Linked DNA regions of Homo sapiens: region 1 is linked to region 2. Evidence: promoter capture Hi-C in 16 types of primary human blood cells and fetal thymus (Javierre and others, 2016). All regions are on one chromosome and are shown on one strand. The core of a region is centred on a gene start or on the middle of the fragment in contact, and the rest is flanking DNA. Distances in the headings are between cores, read along the strand shown. Region 1 has its middle 450 kb from the start of LINC02100. Region 2 holds the start of ZNF622 (zinc finger protein 622).

Region 1 (4,962 bases), core at 1,229-3,728, 1.8 Mb after region 2:
ATAGTTGAAGATATAAAAACATTTTTCCAAAAAAATGATTCTATTGTCCTAAATCATTTGCCCAGGTTACTTCATAACTATCTCTTCAATTGAGTTTCAATATTGGCAAAAATTCTTTTGGTTTTCTAATTTATCTTTCTTCCATAAGACACATAATTTATAATTAAACAAAATGTGTCTCTATTAAGTTAAAGTAACGTCTCCATTCCTTCATCACTCTTCACAAAGGTAAATGAAACAATCAACTGCCTCATCTATAAACCATCATTTATATTCCTAATTCTTCCTTCCTGTTGGGCTTGATATACTTTCAACATCTTTTAGGTAAGCCACACGGATAGGTGGTCAATCTAAATGAGTGAAAAATATTCTGTAGCAATCAAGAAGATAAATCAAACCTTGTAAATTTTCCCTACAAATTGGAGCAATATTATGACTTGAACAGTTTATCAAAATTAAGAGCAGTGATTCTTATTCCTAGCTGTCCATTACAAACACCAGGTGTGGGGAGTGGGTAATTTACACATTGAATATTAGGCTTTCTATTAGTCCATTCTCACACTGCCATAAAGAACTACCTGAGACTGGGTAATTTATAAAGAAAAGAAGTTTAATGGACTCACAGTTCCATAGACTGTACAGGAGGGATGGCTGGGGAGGCCTCAGCAAACTTACAGTCATGGCTGAAGGTGAATGAGAAGCAGGCACAATCTTCACATAGTGGAGCAGGAGGAAGAAAGGGTGAGCAAAAGGGGAAGTGCCACACACTTTAAAACAATAGATTTCCTGAGAATGCTCTCATTATCATGAGAACAGCCAAGGGGGAAATCCATCCTCATGATCACATCACCTCCAACCAGGTTTCTCCCCCAACATTGGGAATTACAATTCAACATGACATTTGGGTGGGGACACAGAGATAAACCATATCAGGCTTCAACTGACAATAAATTAGTCAGAAGCCTCAGTACTTGTGCTCAGACTTGGGCTCAGGCTTGGGTGTTTTCTTAAAAAAAATCATTCCAGGTGATTTTAATGTGTAACCATGGCTGAGAACCAGTGAATTAGATAATCATTTTCTAGTGCATTGCTCAATTAAGATAATTATGCCCATAGAGCTTAAGCTATACCTGCTCCACACTTTCCATATCTAACTTTTATACCACCATTCTCTCTCTTCTTAATAAACACATTGTCATTATAAGTCATCACTGCTTTGTCTGTATCTCCAACAATAGGGAAGGGTGTGAAGGAATTTGAAGAGTTTTAATCCATTTTTTACATCTCTAGGGGTAATAAATTTATAGGCTCATGAAATTCTTCTTACTGCTTCTATTGAAGGAAGGGAAGAAGATCTGTTGACATAATGTCTAGGGAGAAACTTTAAGTTAATCTTGACACCCAGAGATACTAATTCTTTTTTTTTTTCCTGTATTTTCTTTTATAGACTTAAAATGACTGCTCTGCAGCCAGGAGTAACTGAAATATTTGGCTTCTTAAAAGTGATGACCTATTTAATGAACAGATGATATAAATATAAGCCATAAGGTTCTTATTAAAATATAAATGGAGGGGTCAATTTCTTAAATGTTTTTAAATATTCAAGGGTTCACAAAGAGGGAATTTTTTAGAACAGAACAGAGATTTCCCTAAAATAAGTTTTATTTTTCTATTAAAATATGCATCAATATCATTATAAGTATGTTTTTCGAGGTTGCCCTTTCCTGCTTTGAATGGTTATGGCAGACTTTGTTTTTCTGTTTATCGCATCTTTAGAGGAATGCCCACATGCCAGAAACAAGTACAACTGAATTTCCTTAACTTGAAATTTCTAAAAAGCAAATAAAATGAAAGAGAATTACAGAGATGAAACAAATTTTATAGAAACTTTTGAATTACATTCGTCCATATTGTTTTATTTTCTGATGTTTTATAGGCTGGGCCTTAGACTAGATCTTTATTTTCATGTCTTGTTCTGACCACATGACATAGTTTAAGGTAGAAACATACACTGTCTGTCAGAGTAAAGCAACACAGAACAATGAGTTCAACGAGTTAATTCACTGGCAATTTGAGTTTTTCCTGATGCTAGTACATGTATGTTCATTCTGTCATTCATAGAGAATCACAGGACAAGTTCTTCCATGGGAAGCAGTTTTATTTTATTGTAGGAAAAAAAGTACTTCAGAAGTAGTTAAGTCCTAGCATAAATAATTATTTATATATATATACTCATATTAGATATTAATTTTAAACAGGTGAAATAGTGAAGTAACAATTATAATGAAAAATCTTATTGTACTGAAAAAACATTGATGTCTACTACATTGGAAGGATTTAAAGCCTTGAAGCATTTTTTTAATCCAACAAACTAAAAATGGAGACTGAGTGAAGATTGCGAATTCACTGAATAATCATTTTGATTCAAATGGTAATGTCACTGAGAAGAAACATTTATTTGACAATCACAAGTGGTATTACCATTTGAATAAAATGATAATTTTATTTTGTTTGCAAAATAGGGTACACATACTATTTATAATTATTTCGTTGTTAAATTTTAAAACTAATTTAATTTCCTGGCCTCTTTCTAAAGTGTGTAGATTAATACCTAATTAGAATTTTAAAAATGAATTATTGGATCTGATGTTTAATGAGATTGTCTGTTGCCATAAGAAATTATAATCTGTTTCACACCTATTTTCTTCTTTTTCAGCTTTTACTTTAGATTCAGGGAGTGCATGTGCAGGTTTGTTACCTGGGTGTGCTGCATGATACTGAAGTTTGGGGTGATCAAATGATCCCATCACCCAGGTAGTGAGCATAGTACTCAACACTTTTTCAACCTTTTCTTCCCTTACTCCCTCCCCTTTCTAGTATTTCCCATTTCTGTTGTTACCATCTTTATGTCCCTGAGTACCCAATATTTAGCTCCCACTTACAAGTGAGAACATGTGGTATTTGTTTTTTTTTTTTTTTTTCCTGTGCTAATTCACTTAGAATAATAGCCTCCAGCTGCATCTATGTTGTTGCAAAGGACATGAATTCATTCTCTTAGAACTGCGTGGTATTCCATGGTGTATATGTACCACATTTTCTTTATACATTTCACCATTTATGGACACCTAGGATGATTTCATGCCTTTGCTATTGTGGAATTGTGTTGCAATGAACATATGACTGCATGTGTCTTTTCGGGAGAATGATTTGCTTTCTTTTGTATATAAACCCAGTAATGCGATTGCTAGGTCAAATGGTAGTTCTAGTTTAAGTTTTTTGAGAAATCTCCAAACTGCTTCCCACAGTGGCTGAATTAATTTGGATTCCCACCAACAATGTGTAAGTGTTCCCCTTTCTCAGCAGCCTCGCCAGCACCTGTTGTGTTTTGACGTTTTAATTGTAGCCATTCTTACTGCTGTGAGATGGTATCTCATTGTGGTTTTCATTTGCATTTCTCTGATGATTAGTGACATAAGCATTTTTTTCATGTTTGTAGGCCACTTTTGTGACTTCTTTTGAGAAATGACTGTTCATGTCTTTTACCCATTTTTAAATGGTTTTTTTTTTTTTTTTTTTTTTTTTTGCTTGTTAAATTCCTTATAGATTATGGATATTAGACCTTTGTCAAATGTATGGTTTGGGAATATATTCTCCCATTCCATAGGTTATCTGTTTACTCTGTTGATAGTTTCACTGGCTGTGCAAAAACTATTTAGTGTCATTAGGTCCCACCTACCAATTTTTGTTTTTGTTGCAATTGCTTTTGAGGACTTAGTCATAAATTCTTTTCTGAGGTCAATGTTCAGAATGGTGTTTCCTAGGTTTTCTTCTAGGATTCTTATAGCTTGAGGTTTTACATTTAAATCTTTTAAATTTTGAGTTAATTTTTGCATATGATGAGAGGAAGGTATCCAGTTTGATTCTTCTGCATATGGCTAGCCAACTATCCTTGCACCATTTTTTGAATAGGGAGTCCTTTTCCTATTGCTTATTTTTGTCTACTTTGTCGAAGGTCAGATGGCTGTAGGTAAATTTCATATATTTTCAAGAAGAGATTATGTTTTAGAGTTGATGCTGTCAATAAAGCACAAACCAAATAGGTTAAAGTAGTATCTAGAGTTATGATAAGATGTTTATTATATCTGACAGTAAGCAGATACAGTAATTTGTGGGACCAAATACTACATTTGGTTTGCAAGCATTGTTCATGGCATTGAAAGACCCTTGGTTTAACCAGAGAAAGAGCATGGGCTTATTGAATTCTAGTTCTGCGACTAATTTTGTGACATTGGACATATTTAGTCTTCCTGCTTTATTTATAAAATAGAGATGACAATGCATATTCCATAAGGTCTTTCTTAGGAATTAATCTGATAATGCCTAGAAATTCTCAGAACACTGCAAAACTCAGTAGCTTACCCACCACTATAATCCTAATTTTTTTATCCAGCAAAACAAATTCTGATATTGGATAATGCTAGATGCCAAGTCTTTTTTTCTTTGTTGGTAGCCTTTCTTATTGGGAATGTGGCACTGTATTTTTTTCTACAAAAAGGTAGAAAAGCAAAAATCTGAGCCGATGTGTATATGGGTTTTTCATTTTCTTTTAAGCATGTGCCCATGTATTTCCCCTTTAGTATAACTATTACTATTATATGATTAAAAAAAAAACACTAAATTGGCAAATGACCCATCACCCACACACATACACACACACACACACACACACACATACACACACACACGAGAGAGAGAGAGAATCCCTAGCAATTTGGTCCAAAATATGAGCTCAGTGCATCCTACAGAGCAAATGTTCAACAACTCTGTGTGGATGGGCATCAAGTAGGTAGAGTGGAGGCTGCAATTCCTACTTTTTCTTACTAAACTCTAAAGTTTTGTTCACCTGAAAGTTTACTACAATATAAGGAGATAATATTCACTTTACCCTGAGTGCTTGGCTCT
Region 2 (4,705 bases), core at 464-2,963:
TATTTCACAAAAGTACTATGGGGTGTGTGTATGTGCTGGTAGGGTGCTCTATGAACGGCTATGGTTTGAATGCATGTTTCCCTCCCAAAATTCAAATGTTGAAACTTAATCATCAATGAAATGGCATTAAGAGGTGGGGCCTTTAGTGGGTGATTAGGTTAGGCAAGCACTAATCCTGAATAAATGGATTAGTGCGAGGGAACTGGCTAGCCCCTTTTTTGCCTTCTGCTTCTTCCACCACATGATGACACCATGAGAAAACTTCATCTATAGAACAGGCCCTCACCAGACACTGACTCTGCCAGCACCTTGATTTTGGACTTCCCAATTTCCAGAACTATGGGAAAATACATTTATGTTGTTCATAAATCACCCAGTCTCTAGTACTTCCTTATAGCAGAGTGGACAGACTAAGACATGAACACCTACACCAGCACTGTTAATAGGATGTGGGATGAGGGAAGTAAGGAATAAATAGCTCATAAAGGCAAAGAGGTGAGGGTGCTGGCTCCAGCTCCAAATTTCTGGCTGAGTTGGTTTTGATCCCCTCATTCTGTTTTACTCAACTAAATTAAGTGCAAAACCATCATAACTGGAAACCCACTAGAATCGCAAATTACACGGCAGCTGGTATGACGATAGCATGTCCTCCTGTGCATATGTTAAAAGCCTCTTCATCCAAAACACAGAAGGCATCAATTCATTCTCCAAATATGCATTAAGCACTTCTTTTTCCAGACAAGGTTTTAGGCCTTGGAGAATGAATTGAGTGAACTAAACAGCCAAACCTGCTGGCCAGATAAGGCACTTCAGAAAGCGTCTAAACCACCTTCCCTCATCATTTTTACTTAAAAGCTCTCAAACACACACACACACCCATCTCGAGTATAAATCTGGAAACTTAAGGGTGGGCCAAGTTCCTCTTTACCCTCCCCGCCCAGACAGGGCCATCACCGTCTCCATCCAGGTCCTCTTCCTCCTCCTCGCTGTCCTCCTCCTGCTGCTTTGCCAACTTCTTCGCCTGCTGTTCAAACCACTGGAGCCGGGGTGGTTTCTCACTCGGGTCTCGGTCGTGGGTCCCACGGCCACCAGTACCCACGGCCACGACATTCCTGGCCTCCTTTGCAGGCGCTGGGGGCGCCTTCTTGGGAGACATGGACGGCTGGGCCTTGATGGCCTGCTGGATGGCCGCGTTCATGGCATCCTTGTCCACACTGTCCACGCCCAGTCCTTTCTCCAAGTTCTTTTCATTCATCATCTCCACTTTCCGATTCACTGCCTGCACGGCCTTCTTCTCCAGCTCAACGTGACGCCGGGACTTGAGGTGGTTCTCGTAGGCGTTGAAAGAGGCAAACTTCTTACTGCAAACGGTGCAGTAGGTGGCCGAGCCCTTGCTCTCCTCCTCCGCGACGGCCCGCTGCGCCCGCACTCGCTCCTGGAAGCCCTCGGCGGTCACTGGGGCCATGCTGGCCACCTTCCGCCGCAGGTTGTAGCGGTGCCAGTCCGTCTTATAGTGGGCCCGCTGCATGTCCGCGTCGCGGAACGCCACCCGGCAAGTTATGCAGGTGTACGTCGCCATTGCCAGGCGAGAAATAAGAACCGACCAAGCCAAACACCTGGTGATCAGCGCCGTGGCCCCACAAGACCCTCAGACCTTAACCCGCCTCAGCAGCCAGGAAGAGCCACTCGACACGCCGACTTCCTGATTGTCACTGAGGAAACTTCCGGCACACGTCGGAAGTTATTCACAACTGGACAGGAAACCCGCCTCTCAGGCTGTGGCCACGCCTCCGCCGCCGTGAGGCCCAGGAAGCCGAGGGAACGCTGTGGCTGAAAGGGACCTGGGTCCGCTCAGTCAGCCCGAGGTGGCTGTTGATTGAGGGAGGTCGCGCCCTCCCAGTTACCTTCCCTGGTGGTTGTGCCGCTCGGTGTGACGCGGTCAAGGGGACGGCTACGCGAGAATGGGGGAGTGGGGCGCCCGAGGCTGCTCCTGGGCCCTGGGAAGCCCCCGATTAATGAATGGTCGGGTCAGCGACGCGAGGGTCGGGGTTTCTCTGAGGACCGCGCGCTGCACCTGCGGAGCCGGGTGAATGGATGTCGCGAAGGCAAGGGCTGCCCTTACCCCTCGGGGCCGACCTCGGAGCCCTCGCCCGTGGTTGCAACGCTTTCCCGGGAAACCGGAGAAGCCAGGCCGGGGGCTCGGCCTTTCTGAGGCGGCCCTTCCGGCGGAGGACACCGGCGGAATTTGAGTGCACAGAGTGCGCGAGAGGAGCTCCCTGTAGACACACAGTCCAAGCCACGTAGGTAATTCTAATAGCAGCCACATTTTTAAAGAGTAAAGAGAAATCGGTGAAACTGCTTTTAATGTGTTTAATTTAGCCCATCCTGTCATTTCAGCATGTAATCAGTCTAAAAGAATTAATTAGATCTTTTACGCTCTGTCGTTGGTTCTAAGTCTTGGAAATCCAGTGTGTGTTTTAGAGTTAACAGCCCATCTCAATTTGGACTAGACCCGTGCCAGGTGCCCAGTTGGCTGTGTACCCTCATGTATATAGGACAGCAAAGTTCTGTAGAAAAGAACTTCAGGCCAGGCGCGGTGGCTCACGCCCGTAATCCCAGCACTTTGCGAGGCCGAGGCGGGCGGATCATCTGAGGTCAGGGGTTCAAGACCAGCCTGGCCAACATGGCGAAACCCAGTCTCTGCTAAAAAATACAAAAATTAGTCCCGGCGCAGTGGCGCAGACCTGTAATCCCAGCTACTTGGGAGGTTGAGGCAGGAGAATCGCTTGAACCCGGGAGGCGGAGGTTGTGGTGAGCCGAGATCGCGCCACTGCACTCCAGCCTGGGCAACAGAGCAAGATTCCATCTCAAAAGAAAAAGAAAACATGAACTTCAAATGCTTGGGGAGGTCGTAGATTTCATCCACACAGCCTGGTTGAACCAGAGTCAGCCTTGTTAGAGTCGAATGTTGCATGCTCAGAATCCAGGCTGCCAAGAGAAAACCAAAAGAAGATGGCGCTTTAAAAAACCTTCCAGTGCCTTCCCTTGACTCAATCAAATTCAAACACCTTACTTTCTATTCTCCGAGGCTCTACCCCTCCCTCTGAGGTCCTGCCACACCCCCTTCTCTACCCTGCTCACCCTACTTGAGTCGCAATGACACATTTGATGTTCTTCTAACAAGCACTTTAGTTGGTACTAAGTCAGAAAGTCAGAAATCCATTACTCTTCTGCTTGGAACATCCTTTTGCTGGCTTGCTTCCTTATTTTTTGGATCTCTGCCCAAATGCCTTTGTAAGAGAGGCTTATCCAAATCCACTTACCAAAAATAGTGCCTACCTTCCTAAGTCCTTACCAGGCATAACTTTTCTCCAGTACTGTATTAGTTATCTACTACTCTGTATTAAATTACCCCCAAATTTAGCATCAAGCTTTATTTCAGTTTCTGTATGTCAGGTATTTGAGTGACTCAGCTGGGTGGTTCTGACTAAGATCTCCTAAGAGGTTGCAGTGAACATGCTGTCCAGGGCTAAAATCATCTGAAGATCTGACTGTATTTGACTGTGGCTGGAGAGTCTCCCTTAAAGATGGTTCATTTACATAGCTGATAGCAAGAGGTTTTGGTTCCTTGACAAGTAGGCCTCTCCATAGGGCTGCTTGAGTGCAGCAGAGAGCCACATGAAATTCATAGACCTAGCATTGGAAGTCACACAGTCGTTTCCACAATGTGTTGTTACTTTTGCAGGTCAGCCCTATTTAATGTGAGAAGGGTTAACATAAGGGCATGAATACCAGGAAGTGGGAAGTGGGGGGCAGGGTGGTTTTAGGGGATCATTGGGAGATCAGCTACCACTAGCATTTGTTGTCACTGATTTCCCAGGCTTAGCACTGGAAGTCCTGCATCCCAGGAAATCCCTCAATCCTGGGCAAACCAGGATGTCTAGTCACACTGCATGTTAGTCATCTGCGTCTAGATAGAACATAAGCTCCATGACAGCAAGCACTCCTTTGTTGTATACCCTAATGCTAGAACAGTGCCAGCAGATCAACTGTTCAGTATTTGTTAAACGAATCTTTTGCAGTGCAAAAGTTAAGTCAGATGGTGATTTTTATTTCTGAAAACTTATTTTGAGATTATCAGTATCTTTTAAAATAGCTGAGCCATCTGGATACTCACTTTGAGAAATGTAGCTAGTATTAGTTGTTAACTGGAATAAGCAAAGCAGAGTATATTTTCAAGCTTCCCTAAAAAGTAAAGCAGAAGATGGCTATAAAAGTAAAGAACTTCTGGTTTTACTTTTGCCTATTATCATTCTTATATGGCTCTTCCAGCATCTGTTCTTCAGGTCACTATTTCCTCCCTGCCTCCTCTAATCTATTTTCATGTTCCTCCTATTTCAGCATCATTGAACTCTCCAGTTTCTTTACTTTTCTTCTTTAAAGGGGTATTGTTTCCTCCGCCATACTAATTTTCCAATGTACTGTTCTTCTGCAGTCTCCAAGATAACCTTACTCTTTCCCCATATCCCCCTCTACAGTAAATACAGGTAATCAGTAATTTTCCTGTAGTATTTTTTTCATATGTCACTTTTTCTGTTCAAGAATAGTTGTCTGATGCCCATAAGATAAAGTTTAAATTCCATTTGTATCTTTCCTTTCCTGGCTTTCGTATCTCCCATAGTCTCTCCCACATGCTATGTATTTT

What was found. Contacts are between HindIII fragments. The CHiCAGO score rates a contact against its expected background, and 5 or more counts as called.
Region 1: a fragment that was not itself captured here is called in contact with the fragment with the promoter of ZNF622 in region 2 in 1 of 17 cell types (naive B cells); the score reaches 5.4 in naive B cells.

Annotation. Positions count from the first base shown.
Region 1 is chr5:18,298,602-18,303,563 of GRCh38, forward strand. No RefSeq gene overlaps it. Among named protein-coding and RNA genes, the nearest start is that of LINC02100, 450 kb to the right of the region's middle. The HindIII fragment of the contact is 6,425 bases long and covers 1-4,962 here.
Region 2 is chr5:16,464,087-16,468,791 of GRCh38, forward strand. ZNF622 (zinc finger protein 622) reads right to left here and starts at 1,714. Exons shown (of 6, transcript NM_033414.3): 1 at 955-1,714. The coding sequence starts at 1,579. RefSeq lists enhancers at 1,022-1,091, 3,374-3,433, 3,464-3,553 and a silencer at 2,899-3,121. The HindIII fragment of the contact is 4,211 bases long and covers 1-3,429 here.